Regions from separate parts of the Homo sapiens genome. Here regions 2, 3, 4 and 5 are each linked to region 1. Evidence: promoter capture Hi-C in 16 types of primary human blood cells and fetal thymus (Javierre and others, 2016). All regions are on one chromosome and are shown on one strand. Each heading gives the region's core, a stretch centred on a gene start or on the middle of the fragment in contact. The rest is flanking DNA. Distances are from core to core; before and after follow the strand shown. Region 1 holds the start of RNF115 (ring finger protein 115). Region 2 holds the start of RNVU1-6 (RNA, variant U1 small nuclear 6). Region 3 has its middle 12 kb from the start of TXNIP. Region 4 has its middle 6.6 kb from the start of TXNIP. Region 5 holds the start of LIX1L (limb and CNS expressed 1 like).

The links. The method cuts DNA at HindIII sites, captures the fragments that hold promoters and counts their contacts. A CHiCAGO score of 5 or more calls a contact.
Region 2: a contact is called between a fragment that was not itself captured here and the fragment with the promoter of RNF115 in region 1, in 2 of 17 cell types (activated CD4 T cells and naive CD4 T cells). The highest score is 6.8, in activated CD4 T cells.
Region 3: a fragment that was not itself captured here is called in contact with the fragment with the promoter of RNF115 in region 1 in 9 of 17 cell types (erythroblasts, activated CD4 T cells, naive CD8 T cells and 6 more); the score reaches 9.3 in erythroblasts.
Region 4: a fragment that was not itself captured here is called in contact with the fragment with the promoter of RNF115 in region 1 in 1 of 17 cell types (erythroblasts); the score reaches 6.2 in erythroblasts.
Region 5: the fragment with the promoter of LIX1L here is called in contact with the fragment with the promoter of RNF115 in region 1 in 11 of 17 cell types (fetal thymus, erythroblasts, total CD4 T cells and 8 more); the score reaches 9.0 in fetal thymus.

The regions. Positions count from the first base shown.
Region 1 is chr1:145,822,677-145,825,445 of GRCh38, forward strand. It overlaps RNF115 (ring finger protein 115), which reads right to left and starts at 1,419. Exons shown (of 9, transcript NM_014455.4): 1 at 1,096-1,419. The coding sequence starts at 1,197. POLR3C (RNA polymerase III subunit C) reads left to right here and starts at 1,524. Exons shown (of 15, transcript NM_006468.8): 1 at 1,524-1,693. RefSeq lists an enhancer at 1,385-1,784. The HindIII fragment of the contact is 15,759 bases long and covers 1-2,769 here.
Region 2 is chr1:146,050,863-146,053,631 of GRCh38, forward strand. RNVU1-6 (RNA, variant U1 small nuclear 6) reads right to left here and starts at 1,382; the gene lies at 1,219-1,382. It overlaps LINC01719 (long intergenic non-protein coding RNA 1719), which reads left to right and starts at 1,734. Exons shown (of 3, transcript NR_125968.1): 1 at 1,734-2,086. RefSeq lists enhancers at 592-1,320, 1,321-2,052 and a silencer at 1,232-1,471. The HindIII fragment of the contact is 874 bases long and covers 934-1,807 here.
Region 3 is chr1:146,006,847-146,009,615 of GRCh38, forward strand. No RefSeq gene overlaps it. Among named protein-coding and RNA genes, the nearest start is that of TXNIP, 12 kb to the left of the region's middle. The HindIII fragment of the contact is 1,368 bases long and covers 667-2,034 here.
Region 4 is chr1:145,988,620-145,991,388 of GRCh38, forward strand. No RefSeq gene overlaps it. Among named protein-coding and RNA genes, the nearest start is that of TXNIP, 6.6 kb to the right of the region's middle. The HindIII fragment of the contact is 6,969 bases long and covers 1-2,769 here.
Region 5 is chr1:145,956,658-145,959,426 of GRCh38, forward strand. It overlaps LIX1L (limb and CNS expressed 1 like), which reads right to left and starts at 1,360. Exons shown (of 6, transcript NM_153713.3): 1 at 979-1,360. The coding sequence starts at 1,270. RefSeq lists silencers at 1,015-1,294, 1,325-1,414. The HindIII fragment of the contact is 5,249 bases long and covers 726-2,769 here.

The sequences.
Region 1 (2,769 bases), core at 169-2,668:
GGGGAGCTCCTCGTAGTAGCTACAACCCAACCCAAAACAGTTTCTGGGTTTGTGATGCTGGTGCTGGCTAGTATGCTGCATAAATGTTGTTTGTTTTTGTAGAGAGGGGTCTCACTCTGTTGCCCAGGCTGGTCTCAAACTCCTGGCCTCAAGCAATCCTCCTGCCTCGTCCTCCCAAAGCACTGGGATTACAGACCTAAGCCACCGCGCCTGACCTACAAAAGTGTTTTCTTCCCAACCACAGCACTGCCTCTCAAGGGGCTAACACTCTGGCAGAAACTCGTGAAAACCAATTTCACGTCAGAGGAAGCATCCCCAACATTCTGTCCCGGCTCTTTTTCTTAGGTGAAGAAAGGGACAGGGCGGGGGGCGGAACAATGATATTAAAGACACTGGCAGCATGACAACCAAAATAAACGAAGTTGAAACAGTACGTCCTGCCTTCTTCCTAAAGCCATTTCCTTCAACAGTGATAGGAGTGCAGACCGTCTGCAAGTCATTAGTACGCTGCTGTCTTCACTGTCACAAGGACCCTGGAAACCACTGAAGAGCAAAATCCCCCTTTTCGCCCCACAGATACCTTCCAACCCCCTTTCTGTGCTTCCTTCCCTAGAAAAAACCGAAGAGTGACAATCCTCAGCAATCCGCTATTTCGCTTCACTGACAAGGGAGGTGGCGGGGGCGGTGGGGGGTGAAAAGTGGAAAAGAACACAGAGGAAGGTGAGAAGACACAGTGGAAGAAGTGTGGGGGGAGGTCATCGTAGGAAAAAGACCAGGTATAAAAGAATGCAAGAAAATTGAGGGGAGAGTTATCAGAGGGAAACTTGCTAAGAAAAAAAAAAATTAAGGACACGGGAGGTAAAGAGGTGAGGTCAGGTGGAGCAGCCCAGGATGAATTAAGAGGTGGGCAGGAGGTACGGGGCCGAGGCCGTGATGCCCAGGGTTTAGGGCCGGCGGCTTAGAAGTGGGCAGCAGGTATTCGGCAGACCGATGTCGGGCGAGTCAATGATGTGCAGAAAGCTCCAGACCCAGTTCCGGGAAATCGGGGCCAGGAATCTATGAGGTTCCCAAGTATAGAGAACACAGCGCTCTTACCGGTAGTTTGGGGCTGACCTCGCCCTTGCAAAAGTGGCAGAAAAACCGGTGGGCGGCTACAGCGGCGCCCGAGTCCGCCCCGGCCGCCGAAGCCTCCGCCATTTTTGCCCTCCGCCGCGGCCGTCCGAGAGGGCAGCCGGCCCGTCCCTCGCCAGGCCGCTACCTCCCGAGCTGCAGTCGTCGCCGCCGCCGCCGCCTCGGTGCGGCCCACCGCTTCAGAGCCCGCGTCGGTCACGTGAGTTGGCCAGGCCCAGAAACGCGGCGGCGCCAACAGCTACCCTGCGGCCCGCCTCCCAGCACCAAAGAGGCGCAGGAAGGAGAGACAAACGGCCCGCCCGCCGGCTCCACAAACAGCCCCTCGCTGGTCCTCCAGTCTTCCAGCGAGAAGAAAGAAAGAGCGTCCCCGGAAGCCGCCGAAACTCTGGGGTAGAGTGGCACGCGCTTTTTGCTTTTCCGCGTCTTCTTCGGTGGCGATCCGCGTCCTAGAAAGGGCGGTGGGCTCCACCTCGGCCTAGAAGGCCAGCGGGAGCCGTAGGAAGCCGTCGCGGGAAGCTCAGCCGAATTGGAGTTGGAGCCCCCGGATTGCGCTGACCCTGAGGTTAGTGGAAAATGCTGTCTGAACGTGGCGGCACTGACTGGACCAAGAGACCACGTCCGAAACGGGAACCTGTGTAAAGGAAGTGTAGAGCTAGGAGCCAAGCGCCTTGGAAGCCCTTTCCGAGGATGGCAAAGGATCTGGGAATGCTTCTCCAAAGATATGTGGATGGACGAAATAGGTCTCTGGTGATACTGAGGCGGGGTGGGGACGGGGAGGCAAAGACTTGGCTTCTTAGGAATTGGAAGAAATAAGTAAACAATGTTTGGTAGCAATTTGTAATAAGGAAGTAATCATAAAATTAACTACGTCCGTTTCTGATTGTGTCAACTTTGTCAAGGAGTAGAAGTTTAAGAATTGAATACTGTCCTGCAAACAACGTAACCTCATCTCCTGTTTGACACACCCTGTTGAGAAGCAGTCCTTTACCTCCTAAATTTCTTTTTCGAAATTATCATTTCCTTTATGGACTGAGAATAACACTGCCTGTTCACTCCCACCGAGCTGTGAACAGTGACCTTAATTCTTCCAAGCAGTGAAGTGTAGAAACTAAGGTCTGTGACAGACCGCAAAATCATCTCCCAATCTTTAAGGAAAATCAGAATCACGCATAATCCCATAGAGATAAATTTGATGCATAGTCTTTTCCTATGCATACATTTTTCCTTTTTTTTTACAATAATTGAATTTTTATATTTTTTCAGCTTGCTTCTGTCACTTAATATATTATGAGTAATTTTTTTTGTTTTTTTTTGTTTTGGAGACAGAATCTCGCACTGTCGCCCGGGTTGGAGTGCAGTGGCGCGATCTCGGCTCACTGCAACCTCTGCCTCCCGGCTTCAAGCGATTCTCCTGTCTCAGCCTCCCTAGTAGCTGGGATTACAGGCACCCGCCACCACGCCCAGCTAATTTTTTTGTGTGTTTTTAGTAGAGAAGGGGTTTCACTATATTGGCCAGGCTGGTCTCAAACTCCTGACCTCATGATACGCCCACCTCGGTCTCCCAAAGTGCTAGGATTACAGGCCTGAGCCACCGCGCCAGCCTATTATGAATAATTTTCTACATGAATACGCATCGTA
Region 2 (2,769 bases), core at 121-2,620, 230 kb after region 1:
GGTTTAAGTTCTCATATTATTAGGAAAGCTTTAGGGTGCTTCAGGAAAACGCTTTTTAAAAAATCAAATTTGGAAAATATCAAATGGAATTATAGGCAATAAGCATAACCCAGTGGAACCATGAATCAAACCCTCTAGAGCAGGGTTGTCTAAATTTTGGCTTCCTTGGGCCACACTGGAAAAAAAAAAAAGACACTTGTCTTGGGCCAAACATAATATACACTAATCGCAATTGAACTGTACCTGTAAAGCTTGTAAACAAAATGTGTCTGTAAAGTCTGTAAACAGGCCAGGTGCGGTGGCTCAGGCCTGTAATCCCAACATTTTGGGAGGCCGCGAGGCAGGCGGAAAACTTGAGGTCAGGAGTTCAAGACCAGGGTGGCCAACATGGTGAAACCCTGTCACTCTTTTTTTTTTTTTTTTTTTTTGAGACGGAGTCTCACTCTGTCGCCCAGGCTGGAGTGCAGTGGTGCGATCTCAGCTCACTGCAACCTCTGCCTCCCGGGTTCAAGCGATTCTCTTGCCTCAGCCTCCTGAGTAGCTGGGACTACAGGCACGTGCCACCACACCCGGCTAATTTTTTTTTTTTGTATTTTTATTAGAGATGGGGTTTCACTGTGTTAGCCAGGATGGTCTTGACCTCCTGACCTCATGATCCACCCGCTTCCGCCTCCCAAAGTGCTGGGATTACAGGCGCGAGCCAGTGCGCCCGGCCCGGTGAAACCATGTCTCTACTAAAAATTCAAAAAATTAGCCGGACCTAATTTTTTGGTTGCCTGAGCCTGTAATGCCAGTTACTCGGGAGGCTGAGTATTCTCTGGTTGAGGAAGGAGAATAGCTTGAACGCAGGAGGCAAAGGTTGCAGTAAGGCGAGATCGCGCCATACACTCCAGCGGACTGTTTGCTGTTAATCCCATAGGGAAAAGAAAAGCTTAGTTTTATTTCTATAGAACAACAACAAAAAAAGATAAGAGATTAGTAGAGACGGGTTCACTATATTTGCCCACACACGCCTGAGGTCGAGCGATATTAACATAAACATAACCTATCGACGTACCTCATAGATTGCTGGGATTACAAACGTGAGAACCACGATGTCCCAAATTTTTAGTTTCAGTGAAGTTACAGATGGGAACAAAGACCTGATTCTCAGCTTACGCTGACGCCCAGTATGCGTTTCTGCAGCAAACAAAACCTATTTTTAAAACGACAAAAATACAGGGGAAAGCGCGAATGCAGTCTACCACTGCCACAAATTATACAGTCAAGTTTCCCACATTTGGGGAAACTGCAGGGGTCAGCAGATCCGGAGTGCAATGGATAAGACTCGCTCTGGAAAAACCACCTTCGTGACCAGGGTATCTCTCCTGCCAGGTAAGTATGAGTTATTGCACCTCCGCCCCGCCGGCAGCCTCACACGCTTCACCCTTTACACGCACGGTCACTTGCCCCGCGCACACCCCCCTCCCCCCCAGCCCTCCTAGCCCTGACACACAGCTGGGACTCTCAGGTCCGACCAGCGGTCCTGAACCCGCTCCCACGGCACGGGAACTCCTTCGTGGCGAAGCAGCATGTGGCGAAGCAGCAGCCCCTGCGCTGGCTCATCTACATAGAAGTCGCCCTATCCGTGATGTCACCGACAGCGCCTTTCCCAGTCCCCGTCTGCCTTTCTGCCGCTCAGCCGACCAACCCGCTGCCGGAGCCGGCAAGGGGAAGTGACGTCTGCCTCTCCCTTTTTTCTCTCCTGCTTCCCTCATCTGTTCTCTTCCAAAGAAGCTGGTCCTTAGCCTGTATTGCGGAGCAAGCTTTCGGCGACCAGCTGGACCCTGGGCACCCTTCTTCGAACAATGGCTTTTAATTCTCAGACTAGAACGTTTAGGATTACAAAAGAAACTGGTTCTTTTCACATTCTTATTCTTGTGATGTAGCATTCCGCATATATATATATATATATATATATATATATATATATATGTATCCAACTATCCTAAAAGACACTACCCTTCATCATTCCATGCCATTAGACATGTATAGGACCATGCATGGTGATCTCCTCCAGACAAAAGTAAATGCTGGTGCAGAACAGGTAAGTGTACTATAATTTGAGTACATCAGCTTTTGGGCATTTTAAACCATGGGTCAGACAAGTTAGAGCAAGAGGGCAGGTTGATAGCAAGAGGGAGTGTTTTTCTTTTAATTTTCTTTTTTTTTGTTTTGAGACGGAGTCTCGCGCTCTTCGCTCAGGCTGGAGTGCAGTGGGGCTATCTCGGCTCACTGCAAGCTCCGCCTCCCGGGTTCACGCCATTCTCCTGCCTCAGCCTCCCCAGTAGCTGGGATTACAGGCACCTGCCACCACGTCCGGCTAATTTTTTGTATTTTTAGTAGAGATGGGGTTTCACTCTGTTAGCCAGGATGGTCTCGATCTCCTGACCTTGTGATCCGCCCACCTCGGCCTCCCAAAGTGCTGGGATTACAGGCGTGAGCCACCGCGCCCGGCTTCTTTTAATTTTCAAATAGCAAAGTGATGTTTGCCACTGTCATTTCAGAATGAGGTGACAATTTGTTGTTGTTTGGTTTTGTGGGGTTTTTTGTTTGTTTGTTTGTTTCTGAGACAAGGTCTCACTGTCGCCCAGGTTGGAGTACAGTGGCATGATCAGGGTTTACTTCTGCCTTGACCTCACGAATTCAAGCAAACCTCCTTACTAATCCTCCCAAGTAGCTGGGACTACAGGTGCATGACACCACACCCTGGGGTGTGAACTGGGATTT
Region 3 (2,769 bases), core at 101-2,600, 180 kb after region 1:
CACTTGAGCTCACAACTTCGAGACCAGCCTGGGCAACATGGGGAAACCCTGTCTCTACTAAAAATAAAAAAAATTAGCTGTGTGTGATGGTGCACGCCTGTAGTCCCAGCTCCTCGGAAGGCTGAGGTGGGAGGATGGCTTGAATTGCCATGTCAAAAAAAAAAAAAAAAAAAAAATATATATATATATATATATATACACACACACACACACACACACACACACAGACACACACATACATATAGAGATAGATTGATTGAATTGATAGATTGGGTTATGTCTCTGGATAGAATATACCAGTAATTCAGATCCTAGTATTATTTCTTATTACTATTAGACTTGACACCTCAACCTCAGTTTCTTATGCTAAACTGTATCATATTTGTCCCTCCTCAAAGCCTGTGGCCCAAATATGTATCAGAGCAGGGACGGTAAGGAGGCGAGAGGTGGTGGTTTGTTTTTCTGTGAGAAGAAAATTGGACTGCGTTGGTGTTTATAAGTATGAGGGAGATGGGACATTGTGTGCTCAACCCAACTTCCCCTTTTCTGAGAAATTATTTCTTACACAATTCAGAAATACAGTTGACTCAGCTCTGCCACCTAGTGGGCAGTTTAATATACTGTCAAAATTCTTAGTCCAAGAATTGTCTCAAACAAATAAAAGCTTTTCTGAGAGCCAAAACAGCCCAGATCACTCCCCTGAGTGGCAAAGATGATTTTTGATTATGAGAAGGAACAAATGAAGGAAATGTGGTGTTCATGACTGAGGGAAAGAAATTCTACATTAAAACAAGTTTCTATTTTTTTATCCAGACTGACAATTAATAATACTTTCTTTTCTAAGAAAAAATTTTAAAACATTTATTTATTTTTCTAGATCCATCAATGCCTTTTGAAAAAATGAATTAATTTTTTTAAGAGATGGGCCTCTCTCTTGCCCAGGCTGGAGTGCTGTCGTGCGATCAGTTCACTGCAGTCTCTGACTCTTGGGCTCAAGCAACCCTCGGCCTCAGCCTCCTGAGGAACTGGGACTACCACCATGCCTAGTTAATTTTAAGTTTTTTGTAGATATGGGGGTCTTGCTATGTTGCCCAGTCTGGTCTCTAACTCTTGGGCTCTAGTGATCCTCCTACCTCGACCTTCCAAAGTGTTGGGATGACAGGCATGAGCCACTGTGCCAGATCAGTACTTTCTTTTTTTTGAGATGGAGTTTTGCTCTTGTCGTCCAGGCTGGAGTGCAATGGGGCGATCTCGGCTCACCGCAACCTCCACCTCCCAGGTTCAAGCGATTCTCCTGCCTCAGCCTCCCAAGTAGCTGGGATTACAGGCATGCGCCGCCACGCCTGGCTTATTTTGTATTTTTAGTAGAGACAGGGTTTCTCCATGTTGGTCAGGCTGGTCTTGAACTCCTGACCTCGGGTGATCTGCCCACCTTGGCCTCCCAAAGTGCTGGGATTACAGGTGTGAGCCACCATGCCCGGCCAGTACTTTCTTTGTTAATTATATTTTGTCATCTATATATCTATATATATGCATTATAACGCAGTTGCACAAACATTTGATTCTCACCAGGTAAGCAGGAAGACATTTTGCAGAAGAGAATATTGTGATTCAGAGAACTCAAATGACTTGCCTATGATCACACAGCTAGGACAAAATTCCTAGTGAGTCCCTGAGCCTTAAAAAAAAGATTTTTTTTAAGTCCAAGATTGTCCAAGTGTGGTGGCTCACACCTGTAATTCCAGCACTTTGGGAGGCTGAGGCGGGCAGATCACCTGAGGTCAGGAGTTCAAGACCAACCTGGCCAACATGGTGAAACCTCGTCTCAACTGAAAATACAAAAATTAGCCGGGCATGATTGTGGGTGCCTGTAATCCCAGCTACTCGGGAGGCTGAGGCAGGAGAATCACTTGAACCCGGAAGGCAGAGGTTGCAGTGAGCCAAGATTGTGCTACTGCACTCCAGCCTGGGTGATAGAGCAAGACTCTGTCTCAAAAAAAAAAAAAAAAAAAAAGTCATCTCCTTTGTAAAGCTTTCTCTGATTTCTACATTTATTTTTCATTTTTAATTAATTAATTTTTAAATTTTTACCTATTTATTTTTTGAGACAGTATTTCACTCTGTTACCCAGGCTGGAGTGCAGTGGTGCAATCTCAGCTCACTGCAGCCTCGACCTCCTGACCTCCTGGGCTCAAGCAATCCTTCCAACTTAGCCTCCCGAGTAGCTGGGACCACAGGCACACACCACCACTCCCGGCTAATTTTTTGTATTTTTCGTAGAGAAGGGGTTTTGCCATATTGCCCAGGCTGGTCTTGAACTCTTGAGCTGAAGCAATTCGCCCACCTCAGCCTCCCAAAGTGCTGGGATTACACGTATGGGCCACTGCGCCTGGCCTTTAATTTATTTTTAATTCTTTTATTGAGACAGGGTCTTGCTCTGTCACCCAGGTTGGAGTGCAGTAGTGCGATCATAGCTCACTGCAGCCCCAACCTCCTGGGCTCAACTGATCCTCCCACCTCGGCCTCCCAGGTAGCTGGAACTATAGGCACATGCCACAACAGCCAGCTAATTTTTATTTTTTTTGTAGAGACGGGGGTCTCACCATGTTGCCCAGGCTGGTATCAAACTCCCGGGCTCAAGCAGTCCTCCTACCTTGGCCTCCCAAAGTGCTGGGATTACAGGCATGAGACACCGCTCCCAGCCAGCCTACTTTTTTGAAAATATGACTTAGTTTCTCAAAGGTAGAAGTGTTGTATCAAAGACTGACT
Region 4 (2,769 bases), core at 160-2,659, 170 kb after region 1:
TTGTTAATTTTATTTTCTTGCCCTTTTCTCTCTTTAGGTAGTTTTCTTTTTTAGTTCTCTCAGATCTCCCTATACCAGATTAAACCTACTGAATAAATGATACTCAGAACCACATCTCCTCTAATCATTGTACATGTAGGTCATAGCTACTTAAAAATTAAAAGGCACGTGAGAAGAGGATAGGCAAAGAAGACCCAGAATATTCCCCCACTTAAGTGGGGAAATAGCTAAGCCACTCCCCAAGGAAGTGTACTGAAGCAAGCCTGTACGCGGAAAATGTCCTCGGGTGAGGTAGAAGTTGTATACACAAGGCAAAAAGAAGTAGAGTGGAGTTTTTGTGCTGTAAGAGAAGGATAGGTTTCCTCTGGGGGAACAGCTCTAGCTGCTTACTCCCTTAGATTTTGATGTGGTATTCAATATGGCAGTCACTAGTCACTAGTCACTAGTCACATATGTGACAGTCACTAGTCACAGAAAGCTAAAGTTTAATTGAATTGAACAAAATTGGGCCGGGCACAGTAATCCCAGCACTTTGGGAGGCTGAGATGGGCAGATCACCTGAGGTCGGGAGTTCAAGACCAGCCTGACCAACATGGAGAAACCCCATCTCTACTAAAAATACAAAATTAGCCAGGTGTGGTAACGCATGCCTGTAATCCCAGCTACTTGGGAGGCTGAGGCAGGAGAATCGCTGAACCCAGGAGGTGGAGGTTGCAGTGAGCCGAGATCACGCCATTGCACTCCAGCCTGGGCAACAAGAGAGAAACTCCATCTCAAAAAATAATAATAATAATAAATAAATAATTAAACAAAATTAAAAATTCAGTTACAGGCTGGGCACAGTGGCTCACACCTGTAATCCTAGCACTTTGGGAGGCTGAGGTGGGAGGATCGCTTGAGCCCAGGAGTTTTGAGACCAGCCTGGGCAACATGGCAAAACTTCATCTCTATGAAAAATACAAAAATTAGTCGGGCTTGGTGCCATGCACCTGTAGTTCCAGCTACTAGGGGGCTGAGATGGGAAATCACTTGACCCTGAGAGGTGGAGGCTGCAGTGAGCAGAGATCATGCCACTGCACTCCAGCCTGGGAGACAGAGCAAGACCCTGTTTAAAAAAAAAAAAAAAATGTGTGCACAGCACTTTGGGAGGCTGAAGTGGGCAGATTGCTTGAGCCTAGGAGTTCAAGACCAGCCTGGGCAACATGGTGAAACCCTGTCTCTACAAAAAATAGAAAAAATTAGCTGGGCATGGTGGCATGTGCCTGTAGTTCTAGCTACTTGGGAGGCTGAGGTGGGAGAATCACCTGAGCTTGGGAGGTCAAAACTGCAGTGAGCCAAGATTGTGCCACTGCACTCCAGCCTGGGAGACAGAATGAGACCCTATCTAAAAAAAAAAAAAAAAAGATAAGAAAAAAAATCAGTTTATCAGTCATAGTAGCCACATTTCAGGGCTAGTGGCTACTGTATTGAAAATTTCCATCATCATAGAAAGTTCTATTTGGACAGCTGGATAAAGGATATTAAGGGTATCCGGAGGAGATGCCCATGTTCTGGCCCTTCCAGGATCAGATCTCTTTTTTTTTTTGGAGACAGTCTTGCTCTGTCGCCCAGGCTGGAGTGCAGTGGTGCAGTCTGGGCTCACTGCAACCTCCACCTCCTGGGTTCAAGTGATTCTCCTTCCTCAGCCTCCCGAGTAGCTGCAATTACAGGCGTAAGCCACCGCGCCTGGCCCTAGGATCAGATCTCTAAGAGGCCTTGGGTATAAAGTTATCTATCCTTTCGAAGCCATCCCTCTTCTCATATTGGGTACTGGTAGCCCAACTGTGCACACAACCAGGCTCATGTACTCCATGGTCTCTCCATTCCTTTGTCCTGCTCTCTGGCCTGCTCTTATCATTGCTTCACCCCTCTAGGCCCTGGAAAACAAGCTACAGAAAAAACTTTTCCATCAACTTTGACCTAATTTCCTGGTCACAGATTTGAAGGAGAGGAGCCACTAAATTCTTGCACAGGTGAGAAAGGGGCGGAGAGTTCAGGTGAAAGTCACCCTGGCAATAGGGAGAAATAGAGACTGACACTTTGGTAATGAAAGAGAGACAAAGAGAGGGAGGAGAGTGCTATGGAAAATGAAAGATAAACGAAAAATGAGGATTGAAATGGAAAAGGATCTTTTAAATCTCACTTTCTGTTAAATTCACATTGATTTTAGTTTGCTTATTATTTATTTATTTTTGAGACAAAATCTGTCCCCCAGGCTGGAGTGCAAGTGGTGCAATCATAGCTCACTGTAACCTAGAACTTCTGGGCTTGAATGATCCTCTTGCCTCAGCCTTGTGAGTAGCTAGAGCTACAACACCCCACACTGATTTCATGTAGAATTTCCAGGAGCCTGTTATTTGGAATTAGTTTGTGGAAGTCCTCAGAAAAATCAATTCCCAAATAAGGACCAGGACCAGATCTGTGCAAATATTTAAATTGGCCATCCCAGGGTTTCTCCACCTGTCGGTTCTTTAGGAATGAAAATCACTGCTGGGCGCCATGGCTCACACCTGTAATCCCAGCACTTTAGGAGGCTGAGGCGGGTGAATCACGGGAAGTCAGGAGTTCGAGACCAGCCTGGCCAACATGGTGAAACCCCGTCTCTACTAAAAATACAAAAATTAGCTGAGTGTGGTGGCTCATGCCTGTAATCCCAACTACTCAAGAGTCTGAGGTAGCAGAATCGCTTGAACCTGGGAGGCGGACATTGTATTAAGCCAAGATTGGGCC
Region 5 (2,769 bases), core at 110-2,609, 130 kb after region 1:
GGACCTGGCCAAGCAGACAGAAGGGATGTCTTGTAAATTCCAGGCTTAAATTCTGTATTCCACACCCTTCACTATATATTCCTTATTACTTACACTATAAATCTGGAACTCAAACTCAGACAGGAAACTACCCTAGTTAAACGAAAACAACAAAGAAAACCCTCACATCCCTCTTTCCAGAAATTAACGAAGTTTTCTAACTGAAATAGAGTTTCTAACCTGGCACATTTCCACAGAATTTAACATTGAAAGAGCCAAGGCCTGGGATTTATCCTCAGTTCCTGGGCAAGGGCCAGGAAAACACAGCCAGACAGAAAGGCTGGAGTTGTGAGTCTCCATACTAAAAAAGATACCAAAGTAAGGTACTGAGCCACAGGAAGCTGCTGTGAGTTCAGTGGTACAGGTCCGGATTTAAATACACAATTACTATGAGTGACTTGTGAAGGCACTACCTAGTTCCCCAGTAAATCTGAAGTTGCACTGAAATTTCAGAGTGAAGGTAAGTAAGTAAAGAATTTAACAGTCAAGGTTAAGGGGCTGGAGCAAATTAACAGGTGAGTCCAGGAATTGCAGAGATCACAGAGGAAAGACTGAGAGGGTATGGATGAGAAATTGGATCTGAAATAAAAGACAGGATCCCACACAATGAGGACTGGTTCTCAAAGGCAGAGAGATGTTAAGGTATTAAGCTGGAGGAGGAATTCCATTTCTAAAGGAGAAAAGCTTAGGAAGAAAAGAGGATTGTATCTGAAAAAGAGTCCCTGGAGAATATATTAATAACTCAGTAAAGGGGAGGAGGTAGGAGGCTTAAACGTGTGTATGAGTGTGTGCGTCTGTGCGTGTGCGTAGCCCAGAAGGAAACTCCCCAAAAGGAAATGCATGTGAGGGCTCCACGCCAGGAAAAGCGATCCGGAGGACTGTGGGAGCAAGGCTCCCTTACAGAGGGTGTCGCGCAGGAGGCCAGACCCGCAGACTCACCTCGGCCATAGCCCTGCGTGTGCTTGGCGAAGCTCCTCACCACGGCCTCCACGGCCTCTCGCAGCACTGCCGGGCTGCCGGCGGCGCCGGGGGGCAGGGGTAGTCCTGGGGCCCCAGACAGGAGCAGCGGCGGCGGGGGCGGTGCGGGAGGCGGCGGGGCAGGCGGGGGGCCCGCAGGGGGTGTGGCGGTGGCGGCCGCGGCCCCAGTCACTCCGGGCCGCAGCGCTCGGAGAGTGCCCCTCCCGCTGGTGCCCACACCAGGCTGCAGCCGCTGCGCTCGCATAGTCTCCATCCCGGCCGCCAATGGAGTAGCGCCCCGGAGCCTGCCAGCCTGCCGAGCTAACGGTCCCAACCACCCCAGTCAGCTAGCGCCTGGGGACTCAGGGCGGTGCCAGGGCCGAACCTTCAGTCAAGTGGGGGCGGGGACGAGCTAGGTCCCATGCCAATCACCAGTGATGGGGCGGGAGCTGGAGGGCTCCTGCTCCGCCATAGGCAAATTATTGAGGAGGGTGGGGATTCTCAGAACCAATTGCAAAGAGAAAAAGCGTATCCTCTGAAAGGCAGACGCAGAGCTTCGGCGCGTCTTTGGGAGTCCTGTGGCAAGCACTAGAAAGCAGGACAGAATCTTGGGGCTGGGCTTGAAGAAAAAAATGGGCCTAGATGCAAGATTGGGGAGGATTGCAGACAGAGTAGAGATCATTTTGTCCTACCATTTCATTTCACAGATTGCAGGTGAGGATATTGTGGCTCAGAGAAGTAATTCGACTTGTCCAACATCATATGCAATTGGTGGTGGAGCTAAGGCAAGAAAGATACTGACATTTAATGAACATAAACTATGCAATGTACTGTAGTGCATGTCTTATTTACAATCACAATCACTAACTAGATTTTGTTATTTTAGGGATAAGGAAACAGATGCTGAGGGAAGCTAGAAAAATGGCCAAAATTAAATAGCTAAGAGATGGCAAAGTGGAATTCAGAGTTTAAGCATAGGTGTTCTGATTCCCAATATTTTTATCTTTTTACTATGCCACATTGTTGGGTAAATTTCTGAGTTCACTTATTCTAAGTAGAGGAAGGGAATAAGAGAGAGTGGGATGGGCAAGTCTCTTTGCCTCCCATTAGAGTGAGAAAGAGTTAGGATACATGCAGAAAATTAGCAAACTGAGAAGTCCAGTTGGGGGAATTAAGAAAATTACCCTTGTTGGTATAATATGTCAGACTGGGTTCCTCTGATTACTTTGCACACACACACACACTTGCACACATGCACACACACACACTCTACATACCCTTTATCATGTGGTCACCAGGCCATTTTTGCTTAGGTGAGATTATATTAACTGCTTCCCCCCATCTCTCCTACAGTGGCTCAGAAATCAAAGATGGGGAAATAGAGGCCAGAAGTAGAAGAAAATAGAAGAAACACACTTGGTGAAATGAAAATTAGACCCTGAATAAAAACTGTGAGTAGTCAAGAAATAGGAAGTTTCAAAAGGAGACAGTTAATCTACTGGGATATATCTGCTGATGATGGAGGGAGGAACTCTTTGTAGGAACCTTAAAGAATTCAAGGTTGGACATAGAGGAAACTGGAGGAAATGAAATCCTGTCAAATGCCTTAAAATCTTCAGGACACAGGACACTTGCCTTTTCTCTATAGAAAAGTTGGTTTCTTGGAAAGAAGGTGGCTGGAACAGCTAAGTATCCCTTGGATAATTATAGCTATAAGTTAGTGTTACCCTCCCTCCCCATTCCTCATTCCCCATACCCACACCTCCAGGCAGA